3 separate regions of the Homo sapiens genome follow, and all the other regions are linked to region 2. Evidence: promoter capture Hi-C in human tissues and cell types (Jung and others, 2019). All regions are on one chromosome and are shown on one strand. The core of a region is centred on a gene start or on the middle of the fragment in contact, and the rest is flanking DNA. Distances in the headings are between cores, read along the strand shown. Region 1 holds the start of FHOD3 (formin homology 2 domain containing 3). Region 2 holds the start of GALNT1 (polypeptide N-acetylgalactosaminyltransferase 1). Region 3 has its middle 15 kb from the start of MAPRE2.

What was found. Contacts are between HindIII fragments. The study calls those that stand out against the background at their distance.
Region 1: a contact is called between the fragment with the promoter of FHOD3 here and the fragment with the promoter of GALNT1 in region 2, in 1 of the 25 tissues and cell types used here (mesenchymal stem cells).
Region 3: a fragment that was not itself captured here is called in contact with the fragment with the promoter of GALNT1 in region 2 in 1 of the 25 tissues and cell types used here (hippocampus).

Annotation. Positions count from the first base shown.
Region 1 is chr18:36,295,048-36,299,172 of GRCh38, reverse strand. It overlaps FHOD3 (formin homology 2 domain containing 3), which reads right to left and starts at 1,460. Exons shown (of 29, transcript NM_001281740.3): 1 at 1,173-1,460. The coding sequence starts at 1,337. RefSeq lists silencers at 1,218-1,287, 1,408-1,697 and an enhancer at 1,637-2,614. The HindIII fragment of the contact is 5,975 bases long and covers 1-4,125 here.
Region 2 is chr18:35,579,648-35,583,620 of GRCh38, reverse strand. GALNT1 (polypeptide N-acetylgalactosaminyltransferase 1) reads right to left here and starts at 1,881. Exons shown (of 12, transcript NM_020474.4): 1 at 1,759-1,881. RefSeq lists a silencer at 2,140-2,839. The HindIII fragment of the contact is 13,517 bases long and covers 1-3,973 here.
Region 3 is chr18:35,024,320-35,028,458 of GRCh38, reverse strand. It overlaps a transcript of MAPRE2 not described here. Among named protein-coding and RNA genes, the nearest start is that of MAPRE2, 15 kb to the left of the region's middle. The HindIII fragment of the contact is 4,027 bases long and covers 164-4,139 here.

The DNA.
Region 1 (4,125 bases), core at 211-2,710, 720 kb before region 2:
GATACATTAATAGAGAGGAAACTACCACTGCTAAAGTCCACCAGTTTCCTCACACAACCAACCTCCTCCTCTACTTGCAAAGCAGGTCAACATCATACAGAAATCCGAGGTTTTTTTTTAAATCAATTTTGTTCTTTTGGGCATCAACGCTTATCTCTTCCAAATATGTGTTAATGTCGACCCTCAAGAAATAAATCATCTCCAAGCTTTGATATGAATCCTAGGCAGAAAAAATACTGGGAAGGTAATTTTGCAAGCTGCATTCAATCTGTCTAAGTGAGAGTAAGGGTTTTCCTAGGTAACGAAATGATTAGCTTTCAATACCCACCTCTTTGCAACAAATGCTTTGCAAGAGGCCTATCCTCCTGCAAAAGGTTTTATTTAAATAAAAATAACAAATAAAAAAAAAAAAACCTCTCTAACGGGTAGACTGAGCAGCCATTCTTCCCAGGGGACACTCATTTCGGGCTGCCAAGCTGAGGCTTTGTGAGCGCGCCGCCCCTCCGCGCCCCCGCCCCTCCTCCCACAGCGACTGCTCCTCCGAGGTTCCCAAGGCCACCTGCTTCTCAGAAGAAAAGGGGGATACCCTGAGCGCTATCGCAGTGTGCGGCCGGCGTCCCCGGCGGCGCCCCCGGGGGAAGGAGGAGGCGGTGTCGCCGGGAAGCGTGCTTTGTCGCGAGGGTCGCGTGGCCGCCCGCAGCGGCCCCAGAGGCCTGAGGGAGGTTTTGTCCCGGCCGTCGCTCAGAGCTCTCCTCTCCAAGGGACCTGAGTCTCGCGGCGCTCCGCTTCTTCCCGCGCCCCGCTTGGTGCCCGCCCGAGTGCCGAGGCCGACTGCCCGCGTCCTAGCCCCACCCCGCCCACCCGGCCGAGCTAACGGCGCGGCTCGGGGGAGCCTTCTCCATCCCGCCTCGGACCGGCTCGGCACCTGCTCTGCCACGCCCGCCCCCGGCTCTAGCTGTTCCTTCCCGCCCGCCCCGGAGGGTCCTGCGCCAACCAGCGGGTGCCTCGAGCCCTTCTGTCTAACGGGGAGGGGGATTTGCCCTCGAGCGATGGTCCCCCCGGGCCGCGCCCAGCCCAGCCCAGGGGGCCCACGAAGCCCCGGGACCCACCCCGGCGCGCACCGCGGCAGGGGGCTGAGTCCAGGGGGCCCAGCCCACCCCGCCGGGTCGTACCTTGTGCGGCGCCTGCAGCAGCCTATGGACCCCCGCCAGCTGGGTGCCGAGCGCGAGGTCCTCGCGGAACGTGAACAGCGGCGGCCGGCTGGGCTCGGGGAAGTTGGTGCTGTTGAAAGGGTCCGTGTCGTCCAAGAACTGCACCCGGCAAGCCAGCGTGGCCATGATGCATCCCTGCCGCGGGGGCGCGGGCCCCGGGGTTAGCGGGGCCGCGGGCCGGGACGCCCGGGTAGCTGCGCGCAGGGGAGGCCGCAGCCGCAGCTCGCTGGCTCGCGGACTCGCAGGCTCAGGCGCGCCGGGCTGCAGCCCGGGCTCCGGCCGCGGGGGGCGGGGCGGGGGCGGGGCCGGCGGGCCCCCTCCTTCCCCTCTCCCTCCGGCTCCTCCCCTCCTCCGGGTCCTCTACCCCCGGCCGGGCTGCCCCGAACGACCGGACCGCAGCCGGGAAAGTGCAAAGGAGACGGCTCGCGCGGCATCCGCAGCCCTGCGCCAAAGGCCGGCGGCGGAGGCGGGGCGGGGAGGCCGGGCGGCCGGACTCTGCTGCACGTGCGCCCCGCGGCCCAGGGCCGAGCTGCACCCCTCGGAGCCTGGAGGACCGAGTTGGGGAGTTGGGGGGTTGGGGGACGGGGAGACAGGCGGCCTTCTGACTTCTTCCCCACCCGGAGAAGGCTTAAGCCTTTCCAGATGAAGGCGGCGGCGGCCGGCTTCTGCTGCCCAGATTTGGAATACCCCGGCAGGGCACCAGGTGGCCAGGGAGCCGGCTTCGGCAGCAAGAGGGGTGGTGGCAGTGACCGGGAGCCCCACCTAAGGGTACGGGGAGGTTTCCCTTAGGGACAAAGAAGCTAAGAAAGAGGAGGGTGCGCCAGGGAACCCAGGCCGCTTTTAGGGCACAAGCCTAGAGTCGAGAGGCGTGGGGGCTGCGAGGCTTCGCTGCGGGACTCCAGCGCCGGGCCTGGACCCCGGGGCTCCCGGCGGATGCTGGTTAAACCTCTGCATCACCACGGCCTCTCCCCAGTTAGGCCGCCGAAAGCCCTAATTGGACCTTGTGGGGCCGCGGGGGCTTGGGGAGGTGGGAGCCCTTCTGGCAAGGTTCCCGAATTGCAGAGAGCCGGGGATGCCCTGGTAACCGAGGGACTGGGAAGGAAGGTTTGCGTCCTGCCCGCCCCTGCCAGGCGGGAGCGGCAAGACTCGGCGCTGCCTCCCACCGCTCTCCTCGCTGCTCACGGGCGACCCCCTTCGTTTTCAAGAAAAATTCACGGTTCTCCCTATTCCCAGGCCACAGCCAAGTTCCTGGTTCCTCCCCCCTTATATAGATCGCCCTCATAACACCCAGTCTCTCTTAACATCCGAGTGTTTTCAAGGCGACTCTATAACGCGTCTATCTCCCTTTCCTCTGGTTTCAAGGGAAAAGAAACCCTTATCCCTATTTAGCAGCCTCACCCACATCTTTAACCTCTCCCTCTCCGTGATCTCCCTCCCTGCCACACATACACACTTATGCCTGATCTTAAAATAATAATTCCACGACACTTCCGCTCCTTCCAGACGAACTTCTAGCTCTACTTTCTTTGTTATTTAACTCTTTGAATGAATCCTCTAGATTAGCCGTCCCCAATCTTTTTGGCACCAGGGACCGGTTTTGTGGAAGACGATTTTTCCACGGACAGTGGTGGGGTGGGGGTGGGGGGCGTTTGGGGGAGGAAGGGCAGATGGTTTCAGAATGAAACTGTTCCACCTCAGATCATCAAGAATTAGATTCTCATACGAGCGCGCTACCTAGATCCCTCGCATGCGCAGTTCAGAATAGGGCTCTCTCTGGCATGAGAATCTAATGCCTCCGCTGATCTGACAGGAGGCGGAGCTCAGGCGGTAATGCTCGCTCACTGGCCGCTCACCTGCTGTGTGGCCCGGTTCCTAACAGGCTACGGACCAGTACCGGTCTGCGGCCGCGGGGTTAGGGACCCCTGATCTAGACTGGATCTCCACCAACTTCCGCATCTCCTCACAGCCAGAATACTAAACGCACGAATTCTTCCCCTCTGAGATGGGCCGCCTGCACTTCCACCTTCACGTCCACCTCCCTCCTCACTGAGAGAGCCCTCCAGTCCTGGCCACCTCATTTCCTATCACTTTTCCAACCCGGATCCCAGCCCATCCTCTCAGGGGCCTCCTCTCCACACCCCTCCTTCAGTCCCACCTGTCCTTTGGGTACCTGGCTTGCTTCTGCCCCATCTACCAAGTGCCTGCTGCTAGTGGGACCACTCAGTGCCCCACTTCCACCCCAAAGCCCCTCAGCCTCTTACTCCACTGATGCTGCTGCAAGCTTCTGCCCCTTTCCTCGACTCAGAAATTAGTCAATAAGGTAAATAATTTCTCCAGAATGACTTCTAGCACCCTCTCCTCTTCATCTTTCATCTTATTTTCCATCTCCTCTCCATCTTCCATCTCCCACTTCTCAGAAGGTGACCAAAGTCATACTTTTCCTCCCATTCAAGGCTCTGCCCCCACCTGGACCCTGGGTCCCTTTCATCCCACTTGCTCTTGCCTGGGGCTCTATCACTGATCCACTCACTTCCACCTTCCTCCCCTGGCCCCTTACCCTGAGAACCAGGGCCTGCTTCCTGATGTGCAACTCTTGAAGCCACACAGGGCTCTGCACTTTAAAGGGTCCCAAATTGGTTTAATGTTTAGCTGTTGTTGTCTTGAATTTTTTAAATACTTTTTTAAGGAGTCCCGGCATTTTAGTTGTGCACTGGGCCCCATAAGTTATGTACTCAATCCTAATGAGAATAAATACTCAAGTGTTTTCCATCTTAAAAGCTGCATCTTTATGAAGCCCACTTCTCACTCTAGCTCCCTGGCTTATCTCATCATCACTTCCTAACCAACTTCTGAGAGAGAGCCATATTCATTTCTTAGCATCCTCATCACCTTTTCTCCATACCCCATGACATCT
Region 2 (3,973 bases), core at 632-3,131:
ACGCTTAAGTATCCTAGCACACTCATTCGTTTATCCAACAAGCATTTATACCAAGTGCTTATTGCTTACCAGGCACTGTAAAGTCTTCAGTGATACATGGCTGGAAAAGGAAGCCACAATCTCTGCTCTCATAAAGCTTAAACTCTATTGAGAAAGCCAGGCATTTAACAAGTATTTGCATAAATGGTGAGTGCTCCCAAGAGTTTTGCAGTCTGCTGCTTAAGAGGCACCAAACAAACCAGCAGAGCAGTCATTAAACGCAGTTATCACCAGCACGCTGAACAAAGGCTTCTCAGGTTTCAAAGTGCACACAAATAACTTGAAATCCTGGTAAAGCAGATACTGATTCAGTTGATGTGCAGCGGGGCTTCACATTCTGCATTACTTGAGTCTGAGGTGACAGGGATGCTGCTGGTACACCATCCACACTTGGAATAGCAGGACTCGGAGTACCATGGAAACATCCTCAAAGGATCATGTAAAATGTCAATTCCAATAGGGCAAGGACATTGTGTCTCCCTTATTCACCATGTACCCAGAACTTAAAACTGTGCCTCATAGACAGATCGCATTCAGTAAATATTTACTGACACAACAAATGTATGTATAATTTAGACCAGGGCTGTTCAACTGTAGCAAAGAACCACATTTAGCTATGGAACACTTGAAATGTGGCTACTGTGACCGAGGAGCTGAATTTTTAAAATTTAATTTTAATAGTCACATGTGGTTAGTGGCTCCCACGCTGGACAGTCCAGGTCTGGACACAGATGTGATGTAAAGAGGACTGGACTAACAAGGTCTAGGTTTGAATCCCAACTCTGCTGCTCAGATTGTGACCTGAAAAGTTGCAACTTCTTAGGGCCTTCACTATTTCATCTGTGAAATGACAAGACCTCCTAACTCTCAGCGTTCTTGACACGATTATAAAGCAATGTATTAAACATAAGATATGATCAAAGTGACATTCTCTGCCCTCCAGAAACAGTTCAGAAAGACTACTTTGCCTATTGCCCACTTGACCAAAAAAATGCCAAGTGAGTTTGGTAGACGGGTTGGTTAGCTCAGTGGCTTTGAGAATGAGGACAAGGTCACAAATCTGGGGAGTAAGGGAACCTCATCTAGCAAGGCTGACCAGATAAGAGAAGCAATGACAATGCAAATCATCCCAATTCCTGGTAAATGCTTAAATGGGCAACGTATTGATTATGGATGAGTAAATGACATCTCATTCATTCATTCTTCCAGGAAAAGCGGAAAAGCTACTACATTACCTAAAGCCCGCTACTTCCCAACCACAAACATTTGCTAATTTAGGTCCGGGTCCTCCTCGGGGGCAGCGGGCCGGGAAGCCCCCTCCCCCGCTGCCGGCGTGTCTTCCCCTCCCCCGTGGCGCCGCGAGGGTCAGGCTGGCACCGCGGTTGCAAGTACCACACGGCCGAACCCAGAAGCCATATTTAGCTTTATTTTTGTCAATAAAACAAACTTCCGTCTTCTAAAGAAAAACGGTTCTAACTCAATGTCAAACTAGGACGGAAACTCGCTGCTCGCCAAAGCTGCCAACCAGAGACGCCGCGTGTCCAACGGCACCGGGGTCCCAGACCCGAACCCGCGCCGAGCGTGCCCGCGCCCCGGCCCCAGGCAGCGCCGGCCACAAAGGGACCGGGGACGCGGCCGCGGCGGGGCCTCTTTCTCCACCTCCGACCCGCGCGCAGCGCTGCGGCTCCGGGACTGCCCAGCCGCGGGCGATACACTCACCTCGCTAGGCGCGCGGCGGCGGCGGCGGCAGGCGTCCTCCGGGCCGGCCGCGGCGGTCGCGGCCGGTCCCGCGGCCAGCGCGCTACTCTCGGGCCGCCGTCCGCCGCGCGCTCCTCGGCCACTGCCGGCGGCTCCCCCGGCGGGCGGGCGGGTCCGGCCGGGCCCCGCTCCGCCGCGCCCGCCCCCGCCTCCGCGCCCGGCTCGGGTCGGCGGCTACTCCGGGCGCCCCGCTCGCGGGCTCGGGCGGCGCTACTCCGGGCCGCCCCGCATGCGCGCCGCCTGCCCGCTCACTTGGGGCTCGTCGCGCGGCGGGCGCCGCAGGGCGCCCGCAGGCGCTCGGGCGCGGTCCTCCCTGCGCTGCGTGCTCGGCGGCAGCGGCGGCGGCGGCCCGTGCGGCTGCGCGGGGGAGGCGGGGGCGCCGGCGCTCACCCGGATGCGCGCCCCCTCCGCTGCGGCGAGCCCACCGCGGGGCCGCGACGCTCCCCTCGGGCTCGGGACTCCGGGGTCGGGCGCGGCGCCCCTCCCGGACCGACCGCCCAGTCCCGGCCCCCGCTCACACGGCTACGGGCAGGGCCGGGCCAGGCCGAGAGGTGCCCCCGACCCTGGGTCGGGACAAAGAGGCTGCCGCAGCAAGTTAAAGACAACTCGGGCTGTTGCGCGTCGAGCAGGTCACGGGGTGGGAGGAGATGGAGGAGCCCTCACAGCGGATCGGCTCCCGGGCCGAGCGCGGGGCCGCCCCAACCCGGTCGGCTGCCTGAGGCGGCCGCGAGCGCGGGAGCTGGAGCGCTGTCAGCCGCGCTGAGCCTGCGCCTGGCGACCGCGATGCAGGAGGCCCGGGACTGAGGGAGGACGGCGAGAGCGGAGGCCCGCGACCCGCACCGCCGGGGCAGGCACCCGGGTCTCGGGGGCAGCAACGCCGGGGCCCTTGCAGAACGGGGACTGTTTGGGGAAGTGGCTCCCGCACAGTGCCCGGAGAGGGGCCCTCCCTCTGTGCCCCCTTGGGAAACACTGCTTGGTACAATTCCAATACCCAGCTGTACCCTGCCCTGAAGATAGAAGACAAAACCCTGGCTCTGTCACTCACGCGAGGCATAACCAACCATTCTTTTAATAAATTAATTTTCTACTTAAATAATTCAGAGGTTTGTGTCTTATTGCTTGCCAACCAAGAGCTGCAATAAGAGATTACTTAATATTTAAGTGGTCCCACTTTTAAATTTATATTACCTCTCACATAACCAAAAGGCTGTCCGAAAAAAAAAAAAAAAAACCTGAAGATTATCTCTGGAATTTTAGTATCCTGTTTTTGCTTGTCTACATCTTCCAAGTATTCTAAAATAAAAGTTAAAAGTTACTATTTTAAAAGTACTTATATAATATTTTGAAACAAAGTCAATCATGACTAGCCTGTTACTGTTCCACAAGGAAACTTCACTTTGGAATAAAGTTGTCATCGTTAAAAAATACTCTTATCTTGGGAGAAAAGATTGGCAAATCATATATCTGTTAAAGGACTTGTAGCCAGAATGTATGAAGAACTCTTACAACTCAGTAATAAGACTAATAGTCCAATTTTAAATGGGCAAAACAATTGAATAGACGTTTTACCAAAGATATTTAAATGATCAACAATTACATAAAAAGGTGTTCAACATCATTAGTTAATAGGGAAATGCAAATTAGAAGCACAACAAGGAAGTTCTTGACACCCACTACACTGGCTGTAGTACAAAAGACAGACAGACAATAGCAGTGTTGGTGAAGAGATGGAGAAATTAGAACCCTCATACGTTGCCTATGGAAATGTAAAATGGTGCAGCCACTTTGGAAAACAGTTTTCCAGGTTTTTTAAAAAGTTACACATGAAGTATTCTATCACCCAACAATTCCACTCCTAGGCGTATGCCTGAGAGAACTGAAGATAAATTCATACAGTAACTTGTACATGAATATTAATAACAGTGTTATTCATGATAGCCAAGAAGTAGAAACAGTCCAAATGTCCAGAAACTGCTGCGTGGATAAAATGCAGTATATGCCATACAGTGGACTACTACTCAGTAAAAGGAACGAAGTAGTCATAGAAGATACAACATAGAGGAACCTCAAAAACGATAAGCTAAGTGGAAGAAGCTAGATGTGTAAGAGCCTGTATTGTAGGATCTATTTACAGCCATGCCCCGGTCAATGATGGGTCACCTGTACAATGGTGGTC
Region 3 (4,139 bases), core at 928-3,427, 560 kb after region 2:
TACATTATATATTTACTATATTTTGCATAGAAGAATAGCAAAATTCAGAGTTCATGGTTTTGATGCATATGCTTTGGATTTGAATCCAAGTGCTTACAAGTTGTGTAACCTTGGCCAAATTACTTAACTCCTCTAGCTTCAGCTTCTTCACCCATAAAACAGGTATAATAAGATTTGTAAGGTAACATTTTGAGATATAAACCTAGGTTCCTGCCTTGCCCCTGTGGCCATAATTTTTTCTTACCCTTCCATTCTAGAGGTTGGATTTATTTCTCCTCCCTTTGAATCATGGTGGCAGCTTTGATCAATAGATTTTGGTAGAAATGATGCCGACCAGTTCTTGACCTAGACCTTACAATGACAGGCAGCTTTTGCCTTTGTCTCTTAAAGGTCAGCTGCCCTGTGAGAAGTTCAGCTACCCTGGGACTACCATGCTGCTCTGTAAGAAGGCAGGTCTGCTGCCCTGTGAGAAGTCTAGCTACTCTGGGGGAAGTACCAACCATGTAGAGAGGCCCAGAGGGTGGGACACATGGAGAGGGAGGGGAAGAGAGGAGAGACCACAAAGAGTACCAAGGCTCCAAATATGTGACTGAGGAAGCATCCTGCATCTTCACCCACCACAGCTGACACTATATGGATATATGGATTAGAAAGGACCCACCTAACCAAGACCTTCCTGAACTCCTGGTCCACAAAACCATAATGTAGGACAAATGGTTATTTTAAGTTAATAAGTTTTGTGGTAGGCTGTTATGCATTAACAGATAACAGAAAAACCCTGTTGGTTCTCTATTGTGACTCTAAACTTGGTGGATTAAAATAGCAATAATCATTTTATTATTATCTCTTGTCATTCTGGAGGTTGACTGGGCTTGGCTAGGTGGTTGTCACCCATGGTCTCTCATGTAGCTATGGTTGGAAGGTGACTGACTGCTGAAGTCTTCATAAAGGCTTCCTCAGTCTCATGACTGGTGGCTGACGTTGCCTTTTAATTGGGGCCTCAGCTGGGGCTCTGGTTGGAACACCTATGCAAGGCTTCCCCATGTGGCCTGGGCTCCTCACAGCATGGTGGCTGGGTTCCTAGCACAAGCATCCCTAATGAGCAGGCAGAAGGGCATGGCAGTTTTAAAACCTAGTCTTGGAAGTCACAGAGCATCACTTCCATTGTATTTTGCTGGTCAGGGCTGCCACAAAGTTCCACCCAGATTCAAGAGGAAGGGCTATCAACACCACTGGTAACATAACTAGGAGGAATGTCAATCTCACACTGCAAGAAAACCTGTGGGATGGGAGAGATTGTAGTAACCCACTTTGGAAAACCTGCCACACACACCTGCTGAACCTTCTTTACTCGCTGAGTTTTCAGCATGGGGCAGGAATGCAAGAGAGGAAGAAAAGAATGAATGTTCAACTTCGGAGTTTCAAAATCAACTTGTAAGCCCATGGCAGAGAAAAAACCCTGAAGAAATGTTTATGAGCCTCAGAGTCTCATTTTCAAGTATCAAAAGCTTAAGATCTTTCAAAGATTCAGAAACTAAAGTTCGTACTATAAGCCACAAGACTACATGACTGGTTAGAGATGTTGGGTTAGGAGCTGGTGAGTGTCCTTGAAGAGGGACTCTGCCTGCTCTCCTATCCCCAGCCATGCCCATGGGAATTTGAGAGTAGAGGGAACCTGTCCTCTGCTTTATATCTGGAAACTGAGGGATGCCAAAGCCACACAGAAGGTCCCTAGTCACCTTGGCACAGGAACAGCGGGGTACAGATGCAGGTAAACTGTTTAGGGCAACAGCAGTTTTTCCACAGAGCTAGCAAATATTTTTGGGGAGGGAGAAAGAACAAACCTGACCCCATGTGGTAGTGACAAACATCAACAGAAAAGAACAGGCCTCTGCAGACTGCGCCTGTTTTCATGGGGAGGGTTGCCATGGAAGCAACTAAAAAAAAAAAGTCAAATCTCCATTCAGGTTTCCAAAAGCACCTTGTAAAAATGTGAGACTGTGGTGTGGTGTCCATATTCATCGCTGCATTCTCTCACTTGCTGAATAAGCAGGTCAGAGGCATGCACAGAAATTAGGTTGCGGCCATTGGTTTAGACAATACACAGTACATTTAATGAGGAAGCTTCTCTCCTACTTGGCTCCCTCTCCAGATCTCCTGCTTGAGCTAAACTGATAGCCAGCACTTAGCTTTGAATCCTCAGAATGTTTTTCCCTCTCTACCCATCTGTCTGATTCAGACATCATACCTGTTCATTTCACAGGGGGACAGGTATGTCCTGCCCATTCCTCTCCCGCTGCTCACACCCTGCTTCAGACACGCTCCTTCCTCTCACCTACCTCATGAGTCTCTCTAGAGAGGTTTCCTTGCTTCACAATCAATTCACATCTCACCACCAGCTCTATCTTCCCTCCTTTCATTTTTAGAAGTCTTCAGGGGTTCCCTATCATTTCAAGACAAAAATTCTAAGTTTTTCTTTTGGCACTGTAAAACCTAACTACCTTTAGAAACTTATGCCCCACCGTGTATAGAAAGAGTAAGATTGAATTTGGTTTCGGCCTAACCTGGAATGTTAGTTTTGCCACCTGGTATCAGCATAAGCAAAGCTTCCTCTGTACTTGGTAAACAAAGAGAAGAACCTGTAAACATTCCTATTTGGAATCCTTCATAAATGCTCTTGGAAGAATCTATTACTACATCTGATTATTCCACTGGACTATGTTCAGTGGAACTGCTAGACTTCTAAGCTACTGTTTGAAAATAACTTCAGCTTGCTTTATTAAAAAACTACAGAGAGGACGGCAATTTAGTGAAATGAATTCTGATGATGTAAATGTTAACAGTATCCGAGTTGTTACCTCTGAGTCCCTGTCCTCCTAGGGTGAAGAGCACATAGAGTTGGGAACATTCAGCCACGACTGTCTCATCTTTATAACTGCTTTAATTACAATCGAGTACATCATTAAAGTCAGAATCACAATGTTTTAAGCTCATTAAAATATCAGCTAAAAAATTCATAGGGGATTATTGGCTGGAAGAAATGAAAAGTTATAGCATTGCTATTTCCTATTGATGGTTAGAACATGCAAAGATCCACAGAGGGTAAGTTTTGAGGCTGGATGACAAGCTCCAAAAAAAGTTTCTTTGGCCAGTCACTTACATTTGGACACAACAGGCTGAACAGCAGCTTCACATTCTGCACGCAAAACACTCAACTCTGGGTAAAGTAAATCATTCCACAAGTGGCCTCCTTCCACATTCACAGTACTTGAGAAGAGTTCCTGAAACTTGGACACAGTGCTGTGGAGCAGAGCCAAGAAACTTCACAGTGGTTATGAAACAGCTGCAAATCCATGCTTATGTCATGCTTTGTACAAATACTCTATAAAGGACACATTTGATCAAGAGTAGAAATATGGCTTTGCTAGTACTAATCAAGGTGAGAAGCTGGATTTCACTAAAAAGACTTCAGAATAACCCTCTAGTGTTTCCCAATTATATAATTCTAAAATTTATAGTTAACCTGTATTTTTTTATATTTTTCTCACTCACCCTCCAAGCAAATTCATCATTGTATTAATAGCTACTCACAACATGGAGAAAGAAAACAAGCAGCAACGAATTAAAGAATCAGTCCCCTCAGAGGTTAGCACTAGTTTATCTGACAAAAGAGAATGTCCTATAGCAATGAGAGATGTTGCCATCCTTAACATTGTCTATGATATAAAGGACAATACTAAATTTACTGAAAAGGTCTATTTCTAAATTCCCCTTGAATATCAGCCAGGCAAATGTAAGAACCAAATTTTTGCATGATTATAATTCTCTCCAAAATGGGAAATGAAGGTTAAATTAACTTTCAGATCCTGATCTGCAGATACTCGTAGTAAATTTTATTCATCTTCAGATTCTCTTCTTCATTTACTGAATAAAAGCAAGTTATATCGTTATCAATAGAACTGAAATAGGTTCATTTGCATAAAATGCTTTGTTCTACTTCATTCTGAAGAAAACAGCATTTATAGTCAAAAGGCTTTCAGCAACTATTGCAAAAGATACTTCATGAGTCAAGGATGCTGTCAGAGCATGAATAAAAGGGAGAGGGACACAGAGTTCATCATTTACAGAGGGGTTGGAGA